7 separate regions of the Homo sapiens genome follow, and all the other regions are linked to region 6. Evidence: promoter capture Hi-C in 16 types of primary human blood cells and fetal thymus (Javierre and others, 2016). All regions are on one chromosome and are shown on one strand. Each heading gives the region's core, a stretch centred on a gene start or on the middle of the fragment in contact. The rest is flanking DNA. Distances are from core to core; before and after follow the strand shown. Region 1 overlaps FBXL3 (F-box and leucine rich repeat protein 3). Region 2 has its middle 8.6 kb from the start of CLN5. Region 3 overlaps MYCBP2 (MYC binding protein 2). Region 4 overlaps KCTD12 (potassium channel tetramerization domain containing 12). Region 5 overlaps CLN5 (CLN5 lysosomal BMP synthase). Region 6 holds the start of RBM26 (RNA binding motif protein 26). Region 7 has its middle 14 kb from the start of FBXL3.

Region 1 (3,574 bases), core at 107-2,606, 2.4 Mb after region 6:
CATTTTGGGGCTTCCAGAGCAGGTTGGTGAAGTTAGAATCAAAGAAAAGTAGAGTGCCAATATTGAGAGCAGGTATAGCTTCTAAAATCTTTTGGCAAATGTTCTGGAAAGATTTAATCATGACCAAAGTTAGTCTCAGCACAGTTTAGATTAATTTACAGACTTAAAGACATCCTTTCTTTGGGTGAAAAGTTAACATATATTCTTATATATATTCTAACATGATCCTGCATATAATCAGAGATCGTGTCTCTCTCTCACAACTATTCTCTTAAAATACAAAAATAAGAAGGGTGCATTTTTAGAAAGGCAACTGGTAAAGGTGTCTGAATATGTTAGCTAATGGTTAATAGGTTAGTATCCAACAATAATTTGATATTTTTTTCCCAGAAGACACTGAAAACTAAAATATAGACACCCTTTTAAGTATCTAGTAGTTTAATGTACTAGGATGATTGAGGAGGGAATATAACTAAATTGAATATATTAACCCAAGTGGTCGTTTCAGTGGAATGTCTGTACCAAATAAATCACCAGTTGATGTCAAAGTCTTAATTGATTTTGAAACATTTTCATTACATATGTATATTTTGAGATAAAATGTTTTTCTTCACATATAAAATAAGGGAAATGGGCAGGAGAATCTGATTATCTTAATATTTTAAGATCCTAAGTACAGAAAGATCATTGTGGTACTCCGACTTAATGTGTAAAAATCTTCTGAATAGCCTCCTAAATTTTGGATTTCTATCCCTTTTTCAAATTCGGGGTGATTCTAAGTCTTCTCTTCCTGTGAGCAGTCCAGGTGATTCTGATTAAGATGGTTAAAGGAACTCACGCTAAGAAATACTAGTTACATGGTATAGCGCCACCTTCAAGCTTCAAATAGGAAATGAAACAATCTGAATTGATTTTTAGTGTACCTACCATAGCTAAAATACAAATATACATACTGACTCATATGGTATGTATGTATACCATATTAAAGGATATGTTGAACATAATTTAATTTTCTTTTTTTTCTTATCACTATGCATATATCTAGTACTAATTTGGGAACCATGAATGGAGCTAATGGAAAGAATGCTTCTTCCCTTATTAAGTGAGGCTAGGATACTTAATAACTGTTTTTCTTTTTTTCTTTTCCTTTTATGGCTTTGGTAGAAGATTGAAGTAGGGCGTTGCAATATTTTGGAAATCCCAAGAGAACTGAAGAGAACATAGAAGAAATGTTTTTGTCCAGAGCTAAATTGGGGAAATGGGGAAAGACGTCAGTGATGCACTCATTAGACTGCAAATGAAATATGTTTGTACAAGATATAATTGAGTTTGATATGAAAATATTAGGAGAAAAATATTAACATTTAAGTAGTTAAATAGTTTATCAAAATCTAGTTAACCAGTTGTTTAATCACAGTAGGGAAAAAGTAAATTAGGGAATTGTGATCAAGAAGGTAGTGTTTTGGTTGGGTGTGGTAGCTCACAGCTATAATTGGAGTACTTTGGGAAGCCGAGGCAGGAGGTTCTGTTGTGGCCAGGAGTTCAAGATCAGCCTGGGCAGCATAGCAAGACCCATCTCTACAAAAAAAAAAAGTTAGCTGGGTATGGTGGCTCACACCTATAGTCTTAGCTACTAGGGAGGATGAAACAGGATTGCTTAAGTTCAGGAGTTCAAGGTTGTAGTGAGCTAAGGAGTGCCAGTGCACTCCAGCCTGGGTGACAAGAACAGTACTCTGTCTCAAAAAAAAAAAAAAGTAATGTTTCATTATACTTTCTTGGCTCTTAGCCTGCCCTTATCCTTTTTCACTCCTGTAGAGAATTTATAAAGCTTAACTGGAGCATGAAGTTGGTTTTGTAGAGAGGAATGTGTTAGACCATGTATTAGCCTTTCTTTACTCTCCTAGATTCTTTGCCCAGTGGTTTCAACTCATATCTTAGCTCCGATTGAGAGCTGCATACTTTGAGAATGCTTTAATTCCTGTTTGCCTACATTGATTCCTTTAGATCAAATCCTGTCCAACAGATATATAACGTGTGTGTGTGTATGTGTGTATATACACATATGTACATACATACAAATATATACATATATGATGAATGATACTCATTGGTGCTTTTGTGGATCAAAATACATTAAAATAGAAGACTTGAAAATATTGTAGATAACATTTGAAGGAGTTTTAAACTTGGAATTTTAAGTATTATTTTGATTGTTTTATAATCAAATTTTCTATGAGTTTTCATATCTCAAATGAGTCTGTCATAGATTTTGAATAAATTATTAATTTTTAATGATGGTGTTAATAGTTACTATTTAGTGGTCATAACTATCAAACAGAAAAGAAATGCAGTTTAGTGTTATAGAACACTAGGGTTTCCAGATATGGCAAAATGAAGTGTCTGAGAGAGATTCTCATCCTGGGTTCCAGAATTCCTCTTTTTACTTACCAGTGGTTTCTCTGATTTAGAGACACTTATCCTGAGGCTTGAAATGCTTTTTTCCCCCACACATAAATAGACTCTTCTCAAAGATGACAGATAGTCACCTATTTTTACCATATTCCCAACAACAGAGTGAAGGGATGCCACCCCTAAAACATTTACAAAATATTAATATGTCATTATGGTTCAGATAAACTGTAGTACTAGGAAACCCCTTGATTCTCATTTCTAAAAATTGAAATAATTTTTATTTTATTTTTTTTGCTTTTCAGTCTCACTTTATCTCTGCACTGACAGTTGTGTTCGTAAACTCCAAATCCCTGTCTTCGCTTAAGATAGATGATACTCCAGTAGATGATCCATCTCTCAAAGTACTAGTGGCCAACAATAGTGATACACTCAAGCTGTTGAAAATGAGCAGCTGTCCTCATGTCTCTCCAGCAGGTATGTTGTGTTTTTTGCTAGACACATTTTAGTAAAATGCATTGCTATGTTCAAATTAGAAAAAACTATGATCATTAACCTTGAAGGTGGATTAATATGACTGCTTCATCTCTTTAAAATATTTTTAATGTAGTAATAGAATAGCATAAGTTCTGTAGGGTTACTAGCCTAGACACTGACTTTCAGCTTATTTTCTAATCTTATTTGATAAATTTATGAATAGCACATGCTAGAAAATGAACAGGAAAAAAAAGAGGAAAGGACAGTATGAGGTCAGCCTGAGGTGCTCCATTAATTACAGTAGAGTTTTTTCTCATTGTAGTTGAGCTAATAGGGTAGATTTTGAGTCAGAGCAGTCACATAATTGCTTTTCTTCTCACTATGTAGAGGGAGAAGAGTTGTACTAAGTTGTACAACTAAGTTGTACTAAGTGGTAGCCTTAGATTTTGCAAGATGATGTTTTTCCTAAGTTGAATTTTGGAGCCAAGAACCCATCAAATGCAAGAAGAGCATTATAATAGCTCTTTCCAGTTTCTCTTATATAGGATTTTCTGAGCATTACTACATTATTCAGTTTGAGATTACTTAAATTCCAGGTGGTTTGTATTGAAAAGAGAGTATAAACCCTACTACTGTATTATACTACTGTCTGCTGTTTAATTTCTGACTCCTCCCACTATTGACATGT
Region 2 (3,315 bases), core at 236-2,735, 2.4 Mb after region 6:
TGGTAAACCTCCTTCAGCATTTGCTGTAGTGTCAGGAATATCAGTAAGTGGGGGCAGAGATGCAACCCCAAAAAGCTGGAACTTCTTCACTCTTCATTTATTTGAACCAAATAGTTAACAAAGTCTCTGGCAGCATTGCTCTGTGCATCTTTTTTATTGGTGGAATTTCCTATGCCACTGTAATTATACCCTTCCACCTGAACCTCACACAAGAATTTCTGCCTACTTTTGTTCCCCAATGCTCTAATTTCATAGGATGGAGTCATCTTCCTTTTGCCTCACCAGGCATACAGAAAATTTTTAATATCACCCATGATTGAAGTGTCTTCTTCAGATCAGCCTATGCTTCCTGGTTCCCAGCTCTTAGGACCGTGTGGCTCTGGCCTTCCACAAAGACAACAGAGACACGCACAACAACTTCCATAAAGGACTTGGCAAAAAAAAAAAAATTAAGTAGAAAAGAAAGGAGGTTGTTATGACACTTTATGATTTACTGTGGTTTGAGAGAAGTACTGTTTTCTGGTAATTTTGAGGCTGGTTTTATCAGTCCAGGCTAATGAATACGAGGGCAGATTAAAGTCCAAGCTAATTTTTAGTTTCTCATTTACAATCTCATTTTTTATTTTAGGCGTTAAAAGCATTATTCTGAGAAGGGGCTTCACCAGTTTGCCTAAGAGCTCCGGCCCTAGACACACTAATTTCCTACTCCTTTTTTTCTTTTTGAGACAGGGTCTCACTTTGCCACCCAGGCTGGAGTGCAGTAGTGCAATCACAGTCACTGCAGCCATAGCCTCCTAGCTCAAGTGATCCTCCCATCTCTCAGCCCCTATAGTAGCTGGACTACAGGAATGTACCAACATGCCCAAATAATTTTAAATTTTTTGTAGTGATAAGGAGTCTCACTACGTTCCCAAGCTGGTCTCGAATTCCTGGGCTCAAGCGATCCTCCTGCTTTGGCCTCCCAAAGTGCTGGAATTAAAGGCATGAGCCACAGAGCCTGGCCCTGACACAAATATTCATGTAAGAGGTTAAGAAAATCTTAAAGGTAACCAAAAATTAATGAACCCCCAAAGTGTTTCTGAAACTTGGGTATACTAACCTGTTGTTTACATGATAAACTGGGCTAAACAAATACATCAACTATACGTACATCCTATTTTCAGAGTTTCGACAATTTCACTTGCCTAAAGCATCATTTATTTTAGTTCAAAGATAATTTTATTTTCATTTTTATTTTGAGACAGGGTCTCGCTCTGTTGTCCAGGTTAGAGTGCAGTGGCATGATCATGACTCACTGCAGCCTTGACCTCTCAGGCTCAAGCGATCCTCCCACCTCACTTCCTGAGTAGCTGGGACTACAGGCCTGTGCTACCATGCCTGGCTAATTAAATAAAATGTTTTTGGTAGAGTCAGAGTCTCACTTTGTTGCCCATGCTCCTGGGCTCAAGTAATCCTCTTGCCTCAGCCTCCCACAGTGTTGGAATTATAGTCGTGAGCCACTGTGCCCGACCCAAAGATAATTTTAAAAGCATCATTTAAGTGTGAATTTAATAAAATTAAAATTTATAATATTCACTGAAGGCAGAGATTAGAGTGAGACATCTACTTAATAGGTAATACTTAAAAACAAACTGTGGAGCCATAAGGAACACCTTACCCTAATCCTAAATCAAGTGATTTGGATTTATTTTGCTTATTACATTACATTGTTTAGACAATTCTTTAATCTTGTACTTGTTTATTGAATATATTTTTTAGTTCTGTTATGATCGATTTATCAATAGCCGCAAGAAAATTGGCTTCAGAACAAAAACTCTTTTCTTTGTGTTGTTAAATAAAATGTATGAGAGGCCATGGTTTTGAACTGAGCCCCTGCATTAGGTCGCAACAGATTGAACCAAAATGGGGTCGCTCGTGCTAAGTAATCGAACTGTAATCAAACTGAAACGTAAACGGGAAAATTCCCAAAATAGACTGGCTTTTCGTAAAAACAAGAGATTCACAGCAAGCAATCAGAAAGGGCCCAGTCAGCCTAAGTCAGCATGTTAAGGAAGTCCTCTCTGCTTTAACCCTTTATAAGTAAAGTAACCTGAAGTAAACTGATGTTAACCAATTCACTTTTTGTATTCCTGTTTCCCTATTTCTGTTCAAGCTACCTTAGGAAAACCAACTGGTCTGCCAGGCTCATTGAAGCTCCCTCTATTTTGATTAGCAACTGCCTGTTTTATGAGTCACTAATAAAAGCCAATTAGACATTTTAATCAATTTTGTTGATTTTTTTTTTCTTTTTTTGAGACAGAGTCTTGCTCTGTAGGCCAGGCTGGAGTGTAGTGATGCAATCTCGGCTCACTGCAACCTCTGCCTCCCTGCCTCAGCTTCCCGAGTAGCTGGGATTACAGGCATGTGCCACCAGGCCCACATAATTTTTGTAGTTTTAGTAGAGACGGGGTTTCGCCACATTAGCCAGGCTGGTCTGAAACTCCTGGCCTCAGGTGATCTGCCTGCCTCTACCTCCCAAAGTGCTGGGATTACAGGCGTGAGCCACCGGGCCCAGTCAAATTTTTTTTTTTTTTAATCAACGTATATCAAGGAAACTAAAGGGGTACAAACCATTCAGTGAACAGAAATACACTAGTATCAAGGTTTTGACAGAGATGACATTTACTATTTTTAATCTTTCCAACAACTCTATGAAAAAGGTGCTACTTCCTACTTTCAGCCTGAGGAAACGTTGGTACAGATATTTTGAGTAATTTCTCGGGATCACATAAGGCAGTGAGGGTGGAGTCAGGTTTGATCTTGGGCACTCAGACCTACACTAAGTTATCCTGCTTTTCAAATTCACTCCTTGTCCTCCTTTTCCTCCTCATCTGCAGTGATGACGGATGCATGTGTGTTTTCCACAAGCAGTTGCTCTTTGCCCTGTCTGGTGTCACACCACGTTTACATCCTCTTTCTAAATCTAGGCATCGTTGACAGTAAATATCCTACTGGGTCAAGAGCTAGAATCACCCTCGGGGATTTACAGTACTCCATCTGTCACTTATGAGCAGCAATCTACCTCCAGGTTAAGAAAGGTAGGTTTCTTCTTGAAAGTAAATGCAGGGTTTATTCAGCACCCAGGACATAAAGGCTTAGTGAATTTTTATCAGAGGAACATGGGACTAATAATTTAAAGATCCAGTAGGGAAAGTAATGTTTGCTGGATATTGCAGATTTCATCTTTTAATAATAAAGGAATAGTTCCTCTTTTCCCGCTGGAACCATGGAGAGTGTCAAAGAGAAGAAGAAAAAGTTTCCTGCTGTACCAGAAAC
Region 3 (3,500 bases), core at 299-2,798, 2.3 Mb after region 6:
ACATCCATAAGAAGGATTTTTATTTTTCTGCTTGAACCTAGGCAAACCCACCACGAGTAGCTCAGAAGCATGTCGCTTCTGTGGTTCCAGGAGTGGAACAGAGTTATCTGCTGTTGGCAGTGTTTGTTCTGATGCAGATTGCCAGGTGAGTATATAGTGACACAGGCCATCCCATTGTCCATGTTCCCCTGTGACACCTTTACTTCATACAGAAAAGAGTTTTAGCTCAGCGTCACTCCAGCTTCCTAAATGAGTGTATTACCTATGTGAAGCATCAAATGCCTTACCAAAGTTGAAGAATGGGTCAAATAAGGCTCTCAAGCCCAAACCACACTCTTTTTGTATGTTTCTCAGTTACCATGATCATATGTATTTAATATCTACTTTTGTACTAGAAACAGTTAAAAATTTATGAACTGTATTTCCTTTATCTCTTACAGACATTATTCACTTATTTCCTTAAAATACATTTTCAACATCTAAGAGTTCTTTAATCCTGAACATATATAAACATATTCTATGTTGTCCAAATGTTTTTGGTTTCTCAATTAATAAGAATGTGGATATGCTCAGAGAGTCAAAGGTACCTTTTTAAAAAAAAAAAAAATCTGCATTTTGGTGATGCGGAGAGTGGTGACTGGGAAATTATACATTGGGGAACTTTTTTTATTTTTTATTTTTTTGAGACGGAGTCTGGCTGTGTCGCCCAGGCTGGAGTACAGTGGCACGATCTCGGCTCACTGCAACCTCCGCCTCCCGGGTTCAAGCGATTCTCCTGCCTCAGCTTCCTAAGTAGCTGGGATTACAGGCGCGCGCCACCATGCCTGGTTAATTTTTGTATTTTTAGTAGAGATGGGGTTTCACCATATTGGTCAGGCTGGTCTCAAACTCCTGATCTCGTGATCTGCCCACCTCAGCCTCCCAAAGTGCTGGGATTACAGGTGTAAGCCACGACTCCCAGCCAGGAACTTTTTGCTTTATAGCTGTGCATGATGACAAATATGAAATTATAATTCACTTATCAGCATTCCCTTTATAGAGAGTGGCATTTTTTAAAAATCGCATCAAAAAAAAAAAACTTTGTTAAGAAGCCTAATTTATATTCAAACAAAGATTAGAAATAACTTTACTTTGTTGTTACTTGGCCTGCATAGATACTTCCTGTGGGAAAGTAATCTTTGGAAATTTATATAATAAGGAAAATTACCAGAATGTGTGCTTTTTTACATACTTGTGTAACATTGTAATTCATCTTTAACAGGAATACGCTAAGATAGCCTGTAGTAAGACGCATCCTTGTGGCCATCCATGCGGGGGTGTTAAAAACGAAGAGCACTGTCTGCCCTGTCTACACGGCTGTGACAAAAGTGCCACAAGCCTGAAGCAAGACGCCGATGACATGTGCATGATATGTTTCACCGAAGCGCTCTCGGCAGCACCAGCCATTCAGGTTGCCTCAGCTTTTAAAGTATTGAATGTATCCAGACATTAAGATGGGGAATATATTTGTCAAATAAACATTGATTGAGGCCGGGCGCAGTGGCTCATGCCTGTAATCCCAGCACTTTGGGAGGCCGAGGCAGGTGGATCACGAGGTCAGGAGATCGAGACCATCCTGGCTAACACAGTGAGACCCCGTCTCTACTACAAAAATACAAAAAAATTAGCTGGGCGTGGTGGTGGGTGCCTGTAGTCCCAGCTACTCAGGAGGCTGAGTCAGGAGAATGGCATGAAGCCAGGAGACGGAGCTTGCAGTGATCTGAGATGGCACCACTGCACTGCAGCCTGGTGACAGAGCGAGACTCTGTCTCAAAAAAAAAAAAAAAAAAAAAAGCAGTTGATTGAAATCTTTTTTTATATCACTAGGCAGAAGTGTTCTTTTAATCTATACATGTACCAGGCTAATGAGGAGCAAATTCTGCCTCTTTATGCTGTGCTTTCTATGTTGCATGCTCAGCTTTAATTTGTGATTTGTGTGAACCTCTGTAATCAACAGAATGTATAAAATATTCAGAAGCCAGGGGGAAATAATTAGATTATCCCCCAGTAGCTAAGGCTCTTCTTAATTTCCAAAATCCAGAATGGTATTTTTACAACATTATATAATTGATCTATACATAATGATACATACTTCTATACATACACAAGTTACTGTGCACTAAATAGGTTTTTTTAACTTTTGCCCATTGCTTATATTTTCAGTTCTCATGATTCCAAGATAATAATAGTCTCCAAAAGAAAATCATAAGTCAGTAATTTCTTCTTCTTTCTGTGAGATACAAAATTGAATAATTTTACTTTTTTTCCTAACCTAGCTTACTTTATATAAGTGGCATGAATGTTAAAAAGCAGGAGAAGCCAAAGGCCTAGTTAATAGTATCCCAATTTACTGTAATGAAATTTAGTAAATAATAATGTCCCAATTTCAGTGTCCCAATGAATTTTCATTATAGTAAATTTCTTGATTTTTCTCTTACCTGCTTTAAGTAGTGCCTTGCATTAAATAATCTCCCAGTCACTCAACTGTTTATCATTATTATATTTGCTTATGTCCTTTTCTTTTGTTTATTTAAGCTGGATTGTAGTCACATATTCCACTTACAGTGCTGTCGGCGAGTATTAGAAAATCGATGGCTTGGCCCAAGGATAACATTTGGATTTATATCTTGTCCCATTTGCAAGGTATGGAAAGAATCTGAAATCATGTACTTTCTTTTTCTTTTGTTCTTTCTTTTCACCTTTCAAAATAAACATATGTCAGTATCTCTTGGTTTTACCCACCAGCCCCTAGCAGTTTCTTCCCTTCTCATTCATGTGGAACCTGAGAATATAATCTCTCTGTTATAATGCATCTCAAAACAGTAATTGTCCATTTAAAACTGATTACATTCTGTTAAACATATTACATGAGAAAGTTCATTTAAACATCGTGATGCATTAAAGGGCATGCATCTCTACTCTCAGACCACTAGAGAGCTCAGTTGACATAACATGACAACGGCTACCAAAAAGAAGAATGATCCTCTGGTGTTTGTAGAAACTGATACCTGCCATTAAAGAGTGAAATTGGAACCCTCAGTACCACTAGAACAGATTCTTTTAGAGCTTAGTTAAAACAAGGAGAAAGTTCTTGGCATTTTGACACATTTGTACAAAGGTAGTCAGCAAGTAGGAAGTTGTTTTGGCAAGCTAATAATGATTAACAAAAAGCTGTTTTTGAAGAATGTGGCAGTACTTTCCCTATTAATTCATCGCCCCTTTTTGTTCTATTAAGCTCTCCCTATTTTCTTATCTTCGTATTTGCAAACTAATATAAAGGGTAGAATGTGGAAAGACTTAGCACAATCATTGTCTAGATAGACTGAGGAATAATCAAAAAGATTGTAGTATTTTGCTCTCCCCTATCATATGGTGCTACAAATATTAATAGATACATGAAAGTTTTACAGCAAATACTACCTGTTCACTTCTGTCACCTGGCGTTCTGCCTTCCCCTCAAG
Region 4 (3,648 bases), core at 495-2,994, 2.5 Mb after region 6:
GTTGTAAGCCTATCAGAGTCAATCCTTCGTTTGGAATTGTTTTCCTGTTTTTCCTTACTATAAATCATTTAAAAACTGAATTCATTTTCTTAGATGGCATAAGTCTGTCTCTTGAGAAATAAGTAAAATACTCCTATTTTCAGTATCTGTAGCACCTGAAATAGGTCTTTGTATAGCCAGAAACAAGTTATGTTGAAGTTAGCTTTTCTTTGTCAACAGTTTTGGACAATAAAAATCTGAAAGTATTAACACTTGATTTTCTACTGGGGCCCTTCAAACTTGGTTGGAAGAAATTCAACCAGAATATCTACATTAGAGTATAATCATGTGTGGTAGGAAGATGGACTAGTTAATCAAGATTTGTTGTCACTTAAATTTTTTGTGATTTTTTTCCAAGCCAGTTTTTTTAAATTCTAAATGTGTTTTGAGGTATGGGTACATTAATTGTAATGTAAACTATTATACAACTGTTTTTGCGACTTTATAGGCAGGTAAATTTTGCTATTACTATTGAATACAAATGACAATTCATTTATGACCACTCAAACAGCGTTAGTAACCATTTAGTGACAAAGGATTAAAACATCCATCTGGATGTTAATTTTGAAGATGTAAATTATATGTTGTTTAAATTTTTCCAGGCATCTGAAAACCTTATCTGCTAGACAATGTAAGATTCACACAGAGTTATCTGGGATTCTGATTTTTTAAATAGTACATATCATTAAACCATTTTCTCTAAATGTAAGAAGAGCAGAAAAAATCTTATAAGATTATCAGATTTTTCTAATGACACAGAAATGTAAGAAAAAAATCCCTTTATATTGAAAAAAGATGCAGTCAAAGTCTTTTCAGACATGCCCAAACTTTGAGAATTTCTTCAACCATCTAATGCTATAAAGATTTTTGTTCTTCCTGTTCACAACCAGTTGTATAACAGAAATACTAGCTACTGTTTTCCTTCCTGTGTGTGAAGTAATGAATCATTGATTATGTGACTTGTTATGTATTCAATTAAACACTAAAGAATAAAACATTCACTCCTTTAATTATTCCTCTTGGCTCCTTGGCATGGATTGGCTTGAACACTGGTCTAATTTCATTTACGGGGTTCTCTAAATACTGGCAACACTTCCCAAATTATTGTGGGACTACTGCTGAGCATTATGCCATCAGAACTCTTCACCAAGGAACCGGCCAGCAGGACCAAGCACAAATAGCTTCTTTCCCCAGAGTTTATTGTCAAGAATGCCCAGGCGGTCTGGTACTTAATATGGAAGAAATGTTTTTCACAAACATTTTCTTTGACTTCTCTGCAGCATATGCCACTTGCTGTGTATAGGGACAGGGAAATAGAAGCTTCGAGATGTGCTTTACTTAAAAGTACAGTTCATGAGAAGGTTCTAAAAAATGTTGGGAAAGAGGAGCTGCATTTTTTGATGTGGGGGCACTTTACTGCCTCATCTCTAGTGGTTGATGTTCCTCCTCTCTAAAGAAGGCACAGTGCTGCTAAGATTGAGAAATCACAGAAACAAGTCGTCTGGGTTATGGCACCGGAAGCCATGAGTCAGGCGGGTAGAGTGAGCCAGGCTTCACCCTTCCTCTTTCCTTTTGCCTGTACTTCCTCTGGATAGCTTTTGTTTTAAAAGTGTGTGTGTGTAGACACATTATTTTTTGAAAATGTAATACAGATTAACCCTCCTCCAGTAACCGCTAGTTTTTCCTAGAGGCCTCCCTTTTTTTTTTTTTTATCTTTTCTGTAGAAATCACACCTGTTCTGTGTCTTGCTTTCTGTTTGTTAACTACATATCCTGGAGCTACTGCAATGCATGAACATGTGGCAATGATCTACCTCATTTTGTTTGATAGCTACATGATATTCTACATGACACGCCATTGTCTAGATGTGCTGTCGTTTATTTTGTAAGTCCTTTATTGATAGGCATTTAAAATTCCGGGTATTTTTTTTCTACTCCAAAGAGTGCTGTACTGAATGTCTTTTTACATATATGCAAATATATTTGAGTCCAGCTTTTTTTGTATGAAGTGATGCCAAGAGAGAAATGACCAGGAGGTACTTTTTCCTTCTTGAGGAACTATGGAAACAGTGGGATTCACTGGAAGCTTTTTAGGAATTGGTGGGGGTGGTGTGAAATCACTCTAGAGTCATTAGGTATATAAGTGTGAAGTTTTATGTAGCTTTTATATTGGAAACAAGGCCCCTTCCCTTTGTTTTATACCTCCTTTCAAATTTTAGATTTTTTCAATGAATTATGACCAATATTTTGGTTTTAGGTATACAGTATATCTAGAGGAGCCATGTTATATCCCATACTTCTTAAGGAGGCACCTCGGGGGGATTTGGAAAAGGATGGGAAGTTATAGAAGAAATATGGGGTGCCTTCTGGAATCTCAGTTTTACTAATTAAGATATGTACCTATGGATAGGGGAATTAGGTCCTTTCACTGGTAAGTGATTTATAAAAATCTGTTTCATTTTATGGAAGGATTGAGAAATTTTCATGAATTTAAGAGAGAAAACCCTACATGTTAAAGATACTCTGAGCTTGTAGTATCCTAGGAATGAGTGCACGCTCTTCTGCCGTTAGGAACTTGGCGATGGTGGTAGTGGTAGAGTTGAGAACTTCTGTTGGCATATACTGGGCTTGATTTTTGAGAGATAGTTTAGGGAAAACGTCAGCCTCCTAAGTTCTCTGCTTTACTATGCTCAGGTAAGAAGTTTCAATGTCCCTCTGGGGCCCAAGGGCACCTTCTTTACCCTCACAGATCTCCTAAGAGTAGTGGATGGGGCGAAGTAGAAAAGAGGTCATCGAGGCTGTTTTAGGCCATTAACTCTTAACTTGGCTGCTGCAACTTTCCCCCTTGTAGAGCAGCCATTGAGGATTCATTCATTCAAAATCTCTGAGTACTTACTGTGTGCCACACTGTGCCAATCTGATAGGGAAACGGGGATGACTAAGACACAGAAGTGCTGAGGATCAGTAAGAGAGCCAAATAATGATAGAATGACTTGGAAATCAGGGCTAAGATAGTCTGAGCAACTGAGGGAGTCAGAAAGGGAGATACCTAAGTCAGGTCTTAGGCTTGCTAGAGGAGGAGACACCAGAGCAAAGGCTTAAAAGTGAAGAAGAGAAAGAGGAGAGGCCTGCTAAGTCCAGGTCAGCTTAGTGAGGAATGATCGGGAGACAGCAAGAACTAGAAACAGCTCAGTGTTGCTGAAACCTCATGGCAAAAGCAAAAAGCCCTCTATGCCCACCAAAAAAACAACCAAACCAAACCAAAACCAACCAACCAAACAAAAGCATAGAGAAGCAGTAAGAGCCAGATCAGGGTGAGCCTCACGTAACCCATTACAAGATTTGAACTTTGGTTCTCAGGGTTTACTGAAGAATTTTAAGCAAGGTGTAAAGTAATCAGAGAATTCCATTCTGCAGAGAACGTTTGGGGGCTCTGCGAGGAATGGGTTTGATAGGCATGGCCAGGAGTCAGAAACCAGGAAGGAGGCTGTTTATGCGAGTCCAGATGAGAGGACCACACGAAGCCATGTGCAGATCTCCTGGCTGCAATGGGGGTGGTGGGGAGTGGGTCAGGTTTTGTTCATCTTTATTCTCCCTTCAAACCTCTCAG
Region 5 (3,600 bases), core at 1-2,500, 2.4 Mb after region 6:
CTAAGGAATTCACAAAAGTAAAATCACCCCCTGAAAAACAGATGCTGGTGATTGGAGAAAAAAGAGCAGTAGAATTAAGGTGTTTTATAAACCAGAGAGTGTTTTGTTTCTGATAGGTAAAGGGATTTCTTCATATGTTATTTTAATAAAAGGGAATTTCATAGGTAAAAACCAATATTCAAAATTATAAAACAAATAGAACTGTTTGTGCACAATCACTGCATCAAAAATTTGCAAGAGACTCAACAGAAATTCTTTAGTTGGCAAATGTGGTTTGAAGGGGTAATAAAATCTTTTTATGGCTAAACCAAGAGTCTTGTTTCCTGTTGGCCCAAAAACAGATGTTTCATTTCCCAGATAAGTAGGTTCTCCACTGTAAAGAAATATTCTTGTATAGTTGGTTTCTATGTTCTTGAACTCTGCTCCAAATTCAGCCAACTTGTTAAAGGTCCTTAACACAAATTTGGAACAGTCGTAGGAATCAAACCATGTCTCTGCCCCCTTTTCTGGGCTGGCTTTTACATTCCATGTCTCATAATAAATTCCTGTTTCATTGTCCTGTTTCACCCACTTTGCCATTTGGTTGAACATGTTTCCTAGTTTAAAAAAACAAAACAAAGTCACCTAGTGAACAAAGCTAATCATGTTAATTTTTTTTTTTTTTTTTTTTAAGACAGGTCTCCCTCTGTTGCCGAGGCTAGAGTGCGGTGGTAACATCACAGCTCACTGCAGCCTTGACCTCCTGGGCTTAAGTGATCCTCCCACCTCGGCCTCCTGAGTAGCTGGGACTACAGGCGCTGGCCACCAAACCCAACTAATTTTTTAATTTTTCTTTTTTTTAATTTGAGACCAGCCTGGGCAACACGGGGTCTTGCTGTATTGCCCAGGCTGGTCTCAAATTCCCAACCTCAAGTGATCCTCCTGCTTCAGCATTCTAAAGCACTGGGATTATAGGTTTGAGCTACCATGGCTGGCCTAATCATATTAATTTTAAGTAAAATGTTCTAACTTGATTAAGACTGGATGCCTGAGTAAACAATGGTTTTGAATTTCCACACCTGCATTTCACAACAGGAATCCAAGCTCAGCCAATTTTATTCCATTCTTCAAGGCACAAGATATTTCTGAATTATAAACATTAGATATAATAGGTGTATAAGGAGAAGTCATCTTACATACTAATTCTATAATCATTTAAGCTATAGTCAAAGCGAAATTATACAAATGCAGAAGCTCTCTTTCTCTACCCAACTCACCAAATCTTGGATTCAGAGGCAAAAGAGAAAAGGAAAGCACAAAAAGAATTGCGAAAGAGGAAAAGCAGAATGGGCAAAGACAGTGTAAGGAAAATGGAGGTGTGGGAAATGTGGAGCTTCACTGTTGCAAAGCATGCTACACATAAAGTATGAATGGCTGCCTGAGGAGCCACTGCTCTAGAAGGCTGGCTATTACTGTTATGAGAACAAGCACCATACCCCATCCACCTTGTGTGTTTGGTACGTTTCTTTCTTCCCTGTACTTGGAGTTGCTGGGATGCTGCTGATGACCTCTCCACCTGCCACGTTAAGTCCTTCCAACAAATCAACTAAACTGGAAATGTTTTAGGCCGAGTTCATACTCCAGGATGGCTAACCCTCTCTTCTACCATCTTGTACTAGACCAGAAGAATCTTTCCAAATATTCAGAAAACACTACTCTGCATGGTTACAACTCTCATCTTGGGCATTTATAATGCCTAATAGAACTGGGCCCCAAACACTGCATCCTGTCACTGTGTGCAAACCTCTTTGGTTACTCCAACTTGAGTCCATAAAATAAATACTTCATGTTCTGTAAAATGAATAGAGTGACTGCCTTTATCAATTTTATGGAATTAAAATTGTAGAACAGAATAAAGCCTGTTGTATTAGAACTGGGGATACTGTTCTTAGCATTCTTCAACTTTCAAATGCCACCACTATCCTTATGAGACAAGAATGCTTCAAAACACTATTTTGTCAATCACAGGATTATTCACAAGGCAAATAAATGACTTAAAAGATTTAAGTACTGGCATATTTTGAACTATTTTACAAAAAATAGTGATCACTTATTCATATGATCATTGACTTTATGTCAGAAGGAAGGATTTTCAGATAACGATGTAGGTGGAAATGGGGAAAGGTGTGAACTGGCCTGGAATGAAAGAAAGAACCGCTAATGATGGACTTTTGTATTGTTGGTATGGTTTAAGGCACATTGATTAGAAAGTAGCAGGAAATATTAGAAAACAACATGGTGCATTCGGCTAACAGATCCTTGTTACATTTAAAAGACCTCAGTTTTATTCCTGATTCTGCTACATCCAGCTCTTTGACCTTGAGAGGCAAGTAAGTCATGTTACCTGGCTGAGCCTCAATTCCTTATTTGCAGAGAATGAGTATCTTATCCTCTCCACTGAACCGTGAGTTAACATACCTCCAAATCATTTGTAAAGAGCTATACAAATAGGAAGCATGATTACTTCCTCAAGTCCTGGGGTTCACTGAATAATTATTGTCACAACAGTGCTTTCATTTCAGATGTTTCTACTGTTCTGGGGAACAGCAATTTATAATGTAATGCTTCATAAATCATATGGACAAGCTCCTTACTTCTCAAATGCTATGGTATATTGTCTCCATTTTGCACATGAGGCAACGGGCCAATAAGATATAAAATGTGACCCAAGTCACATAAGGAGTTACCAATGAAAGGATTGCTGAACTCTTTTCATTACTAACCAACAATGCAGCACTTGCAACACAATTCCAACTTTCAGCAACTTTCCAATACATCCAAAAGAAGAAAAAAATCTCAAAGATAAAATATTTAAACTGCTCAAGAGGGTCTCAAATATAAGATCATATACATTTTGGGAGGCAATGTATCAAAGTAGTTAGGAGAATGGGCAATGGGGCGTAACTGCCAGGGTTGGAGTCCCACTTACTAAGCTGTGTAACTTTAACCTCTCTGTGCCTCAGTTTCTCCATCTGTAAAATAGGCAAAATAATAGTTACTACCTCCAGAAGTTGTGATGATGAATGATGTGATGTATGTACAGTACTCAGAACAGTGCCAGAACCAGTCTATATTAGTAGCTATTATTTTTCAACATAAAAATATCATCACTAAAATTTTTTTCAGATATAGTTAACATATCCTTTAATCAGGCATTTTATGGATTTCTCTTACTATTTCGTTTAGAAAGACCAATTTAATTGTACAAAATGTTTTATCATTTTATTCATTTTTATGATGGGAAAAGAGCATTTTTAGGGAAACATTCAAAGATCAGAGATAAGCTACTCATCACCAACAGGTGAAGTTCTGCATGAGTAATAGTTTGGGTCAGAGTTTAGTGGTTCCACCAAAAGCAAATGCAACAAAAACAAATATAAATAGATGAGACTTAATTAAACTAAAAAGCTTCTGCACAGCCAAAGGAACAATCAGCAGAGTAAATAGACAACCCACAGAGTGGGAGAAAATCTTTGCAATCTATACATCTGACAAAGGACTAATATCCAGAATCTACAAGGAACTCAAATCAGCAAGAAAAAAACAATCCCATCAAAAAGT
Region 6 (3,797 bases), core at 748-3,247:
GAACAACTTATTTTAAGGAACTCAAAATAGTTTAGGATGGCTGGAGCAAAGACTGAAAGGAGTTTCTAGGCAAAAAGGAAGGTGTCTGATTTATGAAAGTCCCTTTATAGGATGTTAAATAATGTGTTTTATTCTAAAGATAATGTGGAAGTTGAAGATTTTAAGCAAGAAAGTGACATGATTAGATCAAAATTTTAGAATTACTGCTATTAAAGGCAATGATGATGAGGGCAACTGAAGATGAACTGAGATGGAGGTCAGCATAAAAGGCAAAGATATTAAAAGGCTTTTGCTATTATTTAGGAAGAATAAAAGACTTTAAATAAGACAGTGACAGTGGTATGAGAGATGGATGGGCAAAGTTTGAGCAGTCAGGGAAAGAAGTAGAAGCGTTCTCTGTGGAAAATAAAGTGAACAAATGTTTGGAGAAAGGGAGGGTGAGCAAATCAGTTTATCTGGGGTATACAGTATTTGATAGAAGCTTTGGAAGGCTGAAGTGGAGAGCCAGAGTAATGGAGTAGCTGGTGATAAGGTTGAAAATATTGGTGGCGTCAGCCTGTGGCAAGGCTACAACAAACAGACTAAACAAATATAATTTTAACTTTCGGCAGTATTAAATTTATAAACAATTTTTATTGTAAAATACATATAAAACCTACCGTTTTCATTAAGTATATGGTCCACTGCATTAAGTACATTCATATTGTGCAACCCACACAACACCACTCATCTCCAGAATCTAAATCATCCTAAACTGAAACTCTATTATCCACTGAAATATAACTCCTCATTTCCCCTTCTCCTGGGCACCCTCTCCACCCCTGCTCTTGCTACCATTCCACCTTCTGTCTCTAGGAGTTTTGACTACTCTAGGTACTTAATGTAAGTGGAATCATAATATTTGTCCTTTCATGTCTGGTTTATTTCACTCAGCTAAATCACTTTAATCAACACCCTGGTTATTCAGTAGCTGGATTCTAATTTGTATTCTACTCTATATGCTGTATTTTAAAACAAATGTCTTGCTTTGTAGTTCATAATCTTTCCACCTAATCCTTAAAGACACTTCACTCTAGCAAATTATAAACTCAAGAGTTCCTAAGAACAATTTAGCCTATCGGTGTCTCTCATAAAGAGCTTTTATTGATCTACTTACTGAAAATGTCTTTAGATTGTGAATATTTTCATTCCATTACAGTTCATGGAACGTAGACCCTTTGTAAAATTCCACCTAGTATCTAAATAGAACTCAAGCAGGAATCAAACTTATTTGATCACCCAGGAAAATAGTTTATTTATTTGGGTTGCTAATATGAAGACTCTCTCTTTTGATACTATATAATTTCCCGATCTGAGATAGGGCTGAATTTGCTCTAAATAAAGAGAATTTTAAAAATAACAAAACTTATCTTTAGCTGGGGGAAAGTGCAGGCTGGAAACTACCTGAGAGACGTGAAGGTTCTCTCACCTTTCCCTTGTGGGCAGCCCTCAGTCATTAGGGCTCTACCAGCAAGTCAAGTACTGTTGGACAAGACACTAATCCTCTGGCGGTCTCATTGGGCTCCATTAGACCAGCCTGTGTTTACAAACCTCGTTCACATCACAGCATACACAGAATATGATACTGGTAGGGCACTTAGGTAAACTGAGGAGGTAGTGTGCTCGGCACCTGGAACCTACGGGCCGCCTGGTGTCGCGCACGCGGGAGTGTACGCTCTCAAAGAGCGATCCATCCGGCAGGACCGTTCCAGCTGACAGGCCACGGCCGTCTTACCGGGGACGAGCTGGGGTTCCCGCTGTTTCTGAAGTCAGCGGTCTTTTCCTCCTTGTAAGAAATAAGGTCTTTATATCATAAAGGTAAGCAAAGAATAAAAAGGCACAAAGGCCGCAAGCAACGCACACACGCAAAAATCGAACTACAGCACTCGACCCGCGCATTCTCCGCCGACCTTACGTCTCTCCCAGCAGGCTCCGGGAGCCACCGCGAGACTTCATCAATTCTCGCGAGATTTACCGGCAGCCATCTTCTTGGGGGTGCTGGGAGCCGGGAAGACCCCCTGAATCGTTCCCATTGAGCTGCCCTTCGCCTTCGCTTTCTTTACTTTTGCCTTTTCGACGTAGCCAACAAGCACCTGGTCCCGAGGCTGAGAGAAGGCTCGGGTCTAAGCGCGTGTCGCGCTTCCGGTCTGGGTAGATTTGCTGGGGAAGAGGGAAGGGGGAGGGCCCGGGCAAACCGTTGCTGTTTCAGCCCGGGCTGGGGGCCGGGGACGGGGAGCTCCTGGCACCCCGTGCACTTGTGGCCTGCGGCGGTCCTTGCAGAGCTGTTCGCCGACCGGGGCCCGCGGGAACCTGCCACCGGCGCCTCCCACCGCGGCCCACGCGGGCGGCGCGCGGAGGAGGGGGCGGGGGCAGCGGCGGCTGTAGCGGCCGCGACCTGGGCGGGCGGAGGAGTGTGACGGGCCTTAGGGCCGCTGTGGATGGTTTCTAAAATGATCATTGAAAACTTCGAGGCACTCAAGTCCTGGCTCAGCAAGACTCTCGAGCCCATGTGAGTATCCGGGGGATATCTCTTTGCAGGGATGGCAGTGGGAGATAGGCGGACCCAGAGATCTGTGCAGTTTCCCCAAGTGCCTGCGGTGGAGGCCGAAGCGGTGAACGGAGGTCCCAGGGTTCTGTGGCTTCTCCTCCTCGTCCACCTCGCTTCCAGATTCAGGATACCCCCGAGAGCCTGAGTCGAGCTTTATTTTATTGCTGAGCTGCTCTCGTTTTCCCGTTATATATAGACCGTCTCCAACCCCCACCCGCAATATTTTCCGGGGGCCTCAAAATCGGTTTATTTTAGTGAAACCGACTGTATTTTACTTCCTACAGATTATTTTACCTTGTTTTTCTAAATGAAGTAGACGGCCTTTATTGGGGATTCGGGCAGTTCTAGCTTAAATCACTCACGTTTCACCTAAATATAATTCCTGAAAGCAAGGCCACGTCTCCCATGTGCTGTCTGGCTCATCTGCACCTCTCTTCACTGATTGAAGATGTAACAGGTGCTGAGGTGGCCAGTAAAATTCCCCTTTCCCGCCTACGCGTTCGTTAGCTTGGAGAGGAGGAAGAAAATTGAATCTTCATCCATATGGAATATTTAGCAGTTTTAAGTGGGATGCTATAGATAGATTTTGTGTTGGGGGCTGCGGTTAGAGTGCTGAAATAGTCTTAGATTGGAAAATTTAAGGAGTGTTTTGACGACTTGTTAATACAAAATATGACATGGACCAAAGTGCTTAATCAGAATTGGTTGATTTACAATAATGCAATGGGGAAAATTCACGTATTTAATAAAGTTATTAGGTACCTACTGTATACTACGGGAGGCTTTGGGGATAGAGCTTTTAAATTCTAAAATCGACAAGACATAAATAAATCCAGATATTAATAGAGTTGTGACTATTGTAATAATAGAGAATCATGTAAAAGTGATTATGAGGGGGGCTATTTCACATTGGTCAAGGAAGGACTCTCAGAGAAGGTGACATTGGAGTAACATCTAAAGAGAAGGGACCATGTGTGTCAAAGTCTTGGAAAAGAACATTCCTTGCAAAAGGAAGAGCAAATGAAAGGCCCTGTAGCAGAAGTGATTGTGGTGTGTTTCAGGAAGAGAAAGGCCACTGTGGCTGGAAAGAGCCTTGTGATGAGGGAGAGGATATAAAGGCAACAAGTTGGACAAGTAGGTAGGGGCCACATCATGTATGGGAAGACGTGAGATGATTTAAAGCAGACAAGGACTGATTTAATTTTGTTTT
Region 7 (3,843 bases), core at 111-2,610, 2.4 Mb after region 6:
CTTCAGGATTTAGGAAAAATCATTATTGTTTTGTCGTTGGGAGTGTAGCTAAGAGGCCATTTAAGCTGCCTTTTGAAGAATAAGTAGCATTTCAAGGAGCAGAGATGTGGAGAAAGGCATGAGAAATACCTAAGTAGGAAAATCTAGAATATGATCAAAGAACAGTAAGTATGAGTGTTCAAGCTTAGGATTGACTGAAAATGTTTCCAGAAAACACAAAGTACGTAGAGAGACTAAAGCTGTTACAAGAAAACTGGAGGGGAGAATGCAGTGAGGACACTGTCAGTATATTTGACTTGACACTGTCAGTATATTTGACTTAAATTCACAGGCCACAGGAATGAAACTAACCTTGAGAATGCCACACAGATAAGAGACTTTATGGACACTTAATAGCTGCGAAGAATACCATCTTGCGTCAGTTAACTTTGCTGGCAAACTGGTCAGCTCAGTTTGTAAATCGTAGAGGAAAAGAAACAAACTATTGAGATGGCTTGGCTAAAAAAGCCATCTCAAGTTATGAAAGGGATAAAATCAACAAAGCTGTGTAGTGAATACTCACAATGACTTCAACTTATCTTCATTTATGAGGAAGTCACTTTTAGTCAGGATCTCTAGCACCTCAAAACCAGAGAACATAAACATCTTAGCAATAAATTATGACAAAGCACAGGAAGGAGTGGCTTTGGCAGGCATTTTTAGCTCAAGCATCCTACACACAAGGACCATCCTTCAAACACTGCATGTAACATCCAAGGCAGGAGACAGAAAGCAGAATCACAGTGGTAGATGTCAGTGAATCTTCCTGGAAAGAAATTGTTTTTCCGTTATATTTTCAAGCCTAGGAAAAGCCATTTTTCTTAGTATTATGGCTAGACTGTTTAGGCCTAAAATCTCCCTATTTTATCAATAAGCTTATTTGGTTTTGGTTTTTGGTTTTTTGAGTTTTTTGGGTTTTTTTTTTTTTTTTTAAGAAAGGGTCTCACTCTGTCGCCCCAGCTGGAGTGCAGTGGCGTTATCTCGGCTCGCAGCAACCTCTGCCTTTTGGGCTCAAGTGATCCTCCCACCTCAGCCCCAAGTAGCTGGGAGTACAGGCACGAGCCACCATGCCCAGCTAATTTTTGTAATTGAAACAGGGTTTCACCATGTTGGCCAGGCTGGTCTCAAACTCCTGAGCTGAAGCGATCTACCTGCCTCAGCTAGGATTACAGGTGTGAGCCACCGCACCCAACCTCAATAAGCTTATTTGATAAAATATATGCAATGCTCCCTTTATTCACTTTTCATTCAGAATGTTTAGTAATTTGTATTGTTTTTCAGATTTTCAGCCCAATATATCTCCCTGCCCACTGTGTCACTGTATTCTACCTATACATCATCACGTGTTTCTGCTATTGGCTGTATGATGGAACACTGCGGCTCATTTTCCTGAAAACTGCCGATAGTGCATAGAGTGCTGGGATGGAAACCAGAAGCTTTGAATTCAAGCCTTGGTTCTGCCTTGTTTTTGCTTGGGTGGCCTTGAGTCAGCCACATACCTTTTAAAATCTCAATTTATTAGAAATTATTCCAAATCAAAATCAAATGAGAAGGTATATACAAAAGTGCTTTATCCCACAATAAACTATTCAAGAGAGAGCAAAGGAGAGGACATTTACTCAACACCTCCTAAAAGGCAGCCAGTGAAATTAGGCATTTTATTTAATCCTCCTGGCAACTCTGAGAGTAAAGCATTATTAATCCCATTTTGGCTGTTTAAAGAAATTATTTGCACTAGATTCCAGCTGTAGTTTAGCTTCAGAAAAAAAAATCCTGAGATGTGAATTCACAGCTTTCTGGGTTTAAAGCCCAAGCTCTATCACATCATGCTATTATTGTTACATTACTGCTAGTTCTATGAAAAGAAATACTAATTTATGAAATACATCTTATCCAAAATGGTTGGGACCAGAAGTGTTTCTGATTTCGGGTTTTTTCAGGTTTGGGAATATTTGCATTACCAGTTGAGCATCCCAAATCTGAAATCCAAAATGCTCCAGTGAGCATTTTATTTGGGTATCAGGCATGTCAGTACTCAAAGTTTTAAATTTCAGGACACTTATCGTATGGCCAAGGTTGCACAGGGGACAAGACAGCATATGCCTCCAAGAGTGTTCAGTGTCGTCAGGAGGTACCTCCACCCAGATTTCCCTTCAGGGGAGGCCCCACCTCAAGGAGTCCAGTTAGCTGACAGCCTCCAGCTTTAATCACCCCCACATATGACCCAATGTCACACTCCTCCAGGGCAGCCCCAGCCTGTGATAGAGTTCAGATGGGGTTCTCGGGCCTGGCCATTTCTGCCCAAGCGGCACTCCTGCGTGCGCGGTCTTGCGTAAGAACTCAGGCCGACTGAGACTGTCTTACAGCTGCCCTGCAGTCGGAGGCTTTTCCTACCCAATCTTTCCTTCTCTCTTCTTTCCTAGATGCCAGACCTGCATCACAGTCTAATGGCTCTCCCTGCCCACTCCTGCTCCCTCATCACTTTATCTTTCATAGGGATTACCCCCAACAGATTTTCTGCACTTCTAACTTAATCTTGGCATCTGCTTCCTAGAGGACCTGCCTGACACAGGAGGGTAATACATTTTAAATGACTTACTTATGGCTTCATTTCTCAAATGTCTTAGGGTGGCTTAGAAAAAAATAACAAGACTACAAAAAGATATACGCTGGAGGGAGTTACAGTGAAGAAAAATTATGAAAGAAAAAGCCAAGGTTAAAGATTAGTGTCTCGCTGTAACCATACAATGTTATCAAATTGCTCAAGAAAAGGCCATCAATTTTACAGTAAGTTTCTCCAGTAACAAGCAAGGTCAGAGATATCTTCATTTAAAACATACAATGTTCATCTGTTAATTTAAAAAAAAAAAGCCAACGCAGATAGTCTTTCAGGATAGATCAGTTTTGACAAGCAAAAGTGGGAAAGGGCATTCCAGGGAGAGATGATGGTGAGAACTGAGGCATTAACGTGTTCCTCAGAAGCACCAGGTAAGCTGTTTTGCTTCGTTAATTTAATAAATATTTGAACACCTGGTCTAGGTCCACACTTGACAGTACACTCTCATGAGGGTGTTTAGTAACCACGACTTCTACAGAGAAGGCGCTTGATGAATGAACTGCATGAGAGTCTGTCAAGATGTGTGGCGCGCTCTGCCAGGTGGTAGGATGAGACAGCCATGGAACACAAATACAGAATCCTGCAAATAATTCAATGTTATTAAGGACCTTAATCCAGGTTTTATAACCATTAGACAAAGCATTTATTGAGGGCTTACCGTGGCCCTGCACAGTCATGGCAGGCAGAATAACCATCCCCCCAAATCTGTCCACGTCTTAGCCCTTGGGATGTGAAGATGTTGCCTTACATGGCAAATGGACTCTGCAGATGCGATTAACGGTACAGATCTTGTGATGGGAAGAGTACACTGGATTGACCCCATGGGCCCATGTAATCACAAGAGTTCTAATATGGGAAAGAGAGGCAAGAGGGTCACGGTCAGAGAAGGAGATGTGAGGATAGACGCAGAGGCCAGAGATAGAGACTTGAAGATGCTACACTGTCGGCTTTGAAGATGGAGGAAGGGGCCAGGCACCAAGGAATGCAGGTGGCCTCTGGGAGCTGGCAAAGGTGAACACAGGTTCTCCCCTGGAGGCTCCACAGGGAATGTACACTCTGCTGTTAGTACATTTCAAAATTCTGATCTCCAGAACTACACAATCATAAATGTGTTGTTTTAAGCCACCGGGTCTGTGGCGATTTGTTACAGCAGCAACAGGAAAGGAATACAATGGGCTTCACAAGCA

What was found. The method cuts DNA at HindIII sites, captures the fragments that hold promoters and counts their contacts. A CHiCAGO score of 5 or more calls a contact.
Region 1: a contact is called between a fragment that was not itself captured here and the fragment with the promoter of RBM26 in region 6, in 7 of 17 cell types (non-activated CD4 T cells, naive CD8 T cells, total CD4 T cells and 4 more). The highest score is 11.1, in non-activated CD4 T cells.
Region 2: a contact is called between a fragment that was not itself captured here and the fragment with the promoter of RBM26 in region 6, in 1 of 17 cell types (total CD4 T cells). The highest score is 5.5, in total CD4 T cells.
Region 3: a fragment that was not itself captured here is called in contact with the fragment with the promoter of RBM26 in region 6 in 2 of 17 cell types (total B cells and naive CD8 T cells); the score reaches 9.5 in total B cells.
Region 4: a fragment that was not itself captured here is called in contact with the fragment with the promoter of RBM26 in region 6 in 3 of 17 cell types (total CD4 T cells, non-activated CD4 T cells and activated CD4 T cells); the score reaches 7.1 in total CD4 T cells.
Region 5: a contact is called between a fragment that was not itself captured here and the fragment with the promoter of RBM26 in region 6, in 3 of 17 cell types (non-activated CD4 T cells, naive CD4 T cells and naive CD8 T cells). The highest score is 6.6, in non-activated CD4 T cells.
Region 7: a fragment that was not itself captured here is called in contact with the fragment with the promoter of RBM26 in region 6 in 4 of 17 cell types (naive CD4 T cells, total CD4 T cells, naive CD8 T cells and 1 more); the score reaches 9.6 in naive CD4 T cells.

What each region holds. Positions count from the first base shown.
Region 1 is chr13:77,014,721-77,018,294 of GRCh38, reverse strand. FBXL3 (F-box and leucine rich repeat protein 3) reads left to right here. Exons shown (of 5, transcript NM_012158.4): 4 at 2,715-2,886. Among named protein-coding and RNA genes, the nearest start is that of FBXL3, 11 kb to the left of the region's middle. The HindIII fragment of the contact is 949 bases long and covers 882-1,830 here.
Region 2 is chr13:76,981,867-76,985,181 of GRCh38, reverse strand. It overlaps the pseudogene RPL7P44 and the pseudogene DHX9P1. Among named protein-coding and RNA genes, the nearest start is that of CLN5, 8.6 kb to the left of the region's middle. The HindIII fragment of the contact is 3,853 bases long and covers 1-3,315 here.
Region 3 is chr13:77,056,168-77,059,667 of GRCh38, reverse strand. MYCBP2 (MYC binding protein 2) reads left to right here. Exons shown (of 83, transcript NM_015057.5): 77 at 42-145; 78 at 1,262-1,450; 79 at 2,575-2,682. Among named protein-coding and RNA genes, the nearest start is that of MYCBP2-AS1, 18 kb to the left of the region's middle. The HindIII fragment of the contact is 8,850 bases long and covers 1-3,500 here.
Region 4 is chr13:76,877,576-76,881,223 of GRCh38, reverse strand. It overlaps KCTD12 (potassium channel tetramerization domain containing 12), which reads left to right. Exons shown (of 1, transcript NM_138444.4): 1 at 1-1,049. Among named protein-coding and RNA genes, the nearest start is that of KCTD12, 7.0 kb to the left of the region's middle. The HindIII fragment of the contact is 765 bases long and covers 1,362-2,126 here.
Region 5 is chr13:76,997,454-77,001,053 of GRCh38, reverse strand. CLN5 (CLN5 lysosomal BMP synthase) reads right to left here. Exons shown (of 4, transcript NM_006493.4): 4 at 1-596. The coding sequence ends at 85. Among named protein-coding and RNA genes, the nearest start is that of CLN5, 7.2 kb to the right of the region's middle. The HindIII fragment of the contact is 4,399 bases long and covers 1-3,449 here.
Region 6 is chr13:79,404,455-79,408,251 of GRCh38, reverse strand. It overlaps RBM26 (RNA binding motif protein 26), which reads left to right and starts at 1,997. Exons shown (of 22, transcript NM_001366735.2): 1 at 1,997-2,548. The coding sequence starts at 2,478. RBM26-AS1 (RBM26 antisense RNA 1) reads right to left here and starts at 1,943. Exons shown (of 7, transcript NR_038991.1): 1 at 1,775-1,943. RefSeq lists enhancers at 1,712-2,011, 1,341-2,332 and a silencer at 2,242-2,441. The HindIII fragment of the contact is 7,810 bases long and covers 484-3,797 here.
Region 7 is chr13:77,039,551-77,043,393 of GRCh38, reverse strand. No RefSeq gene overlaps it. Among named protein-coding and RNA genes, the nearest start is that of FBXL3, 14 kb to the right of the region's middle. The HindIII fragment of the contact is 234 bases long and covers 1,244-1,477 here.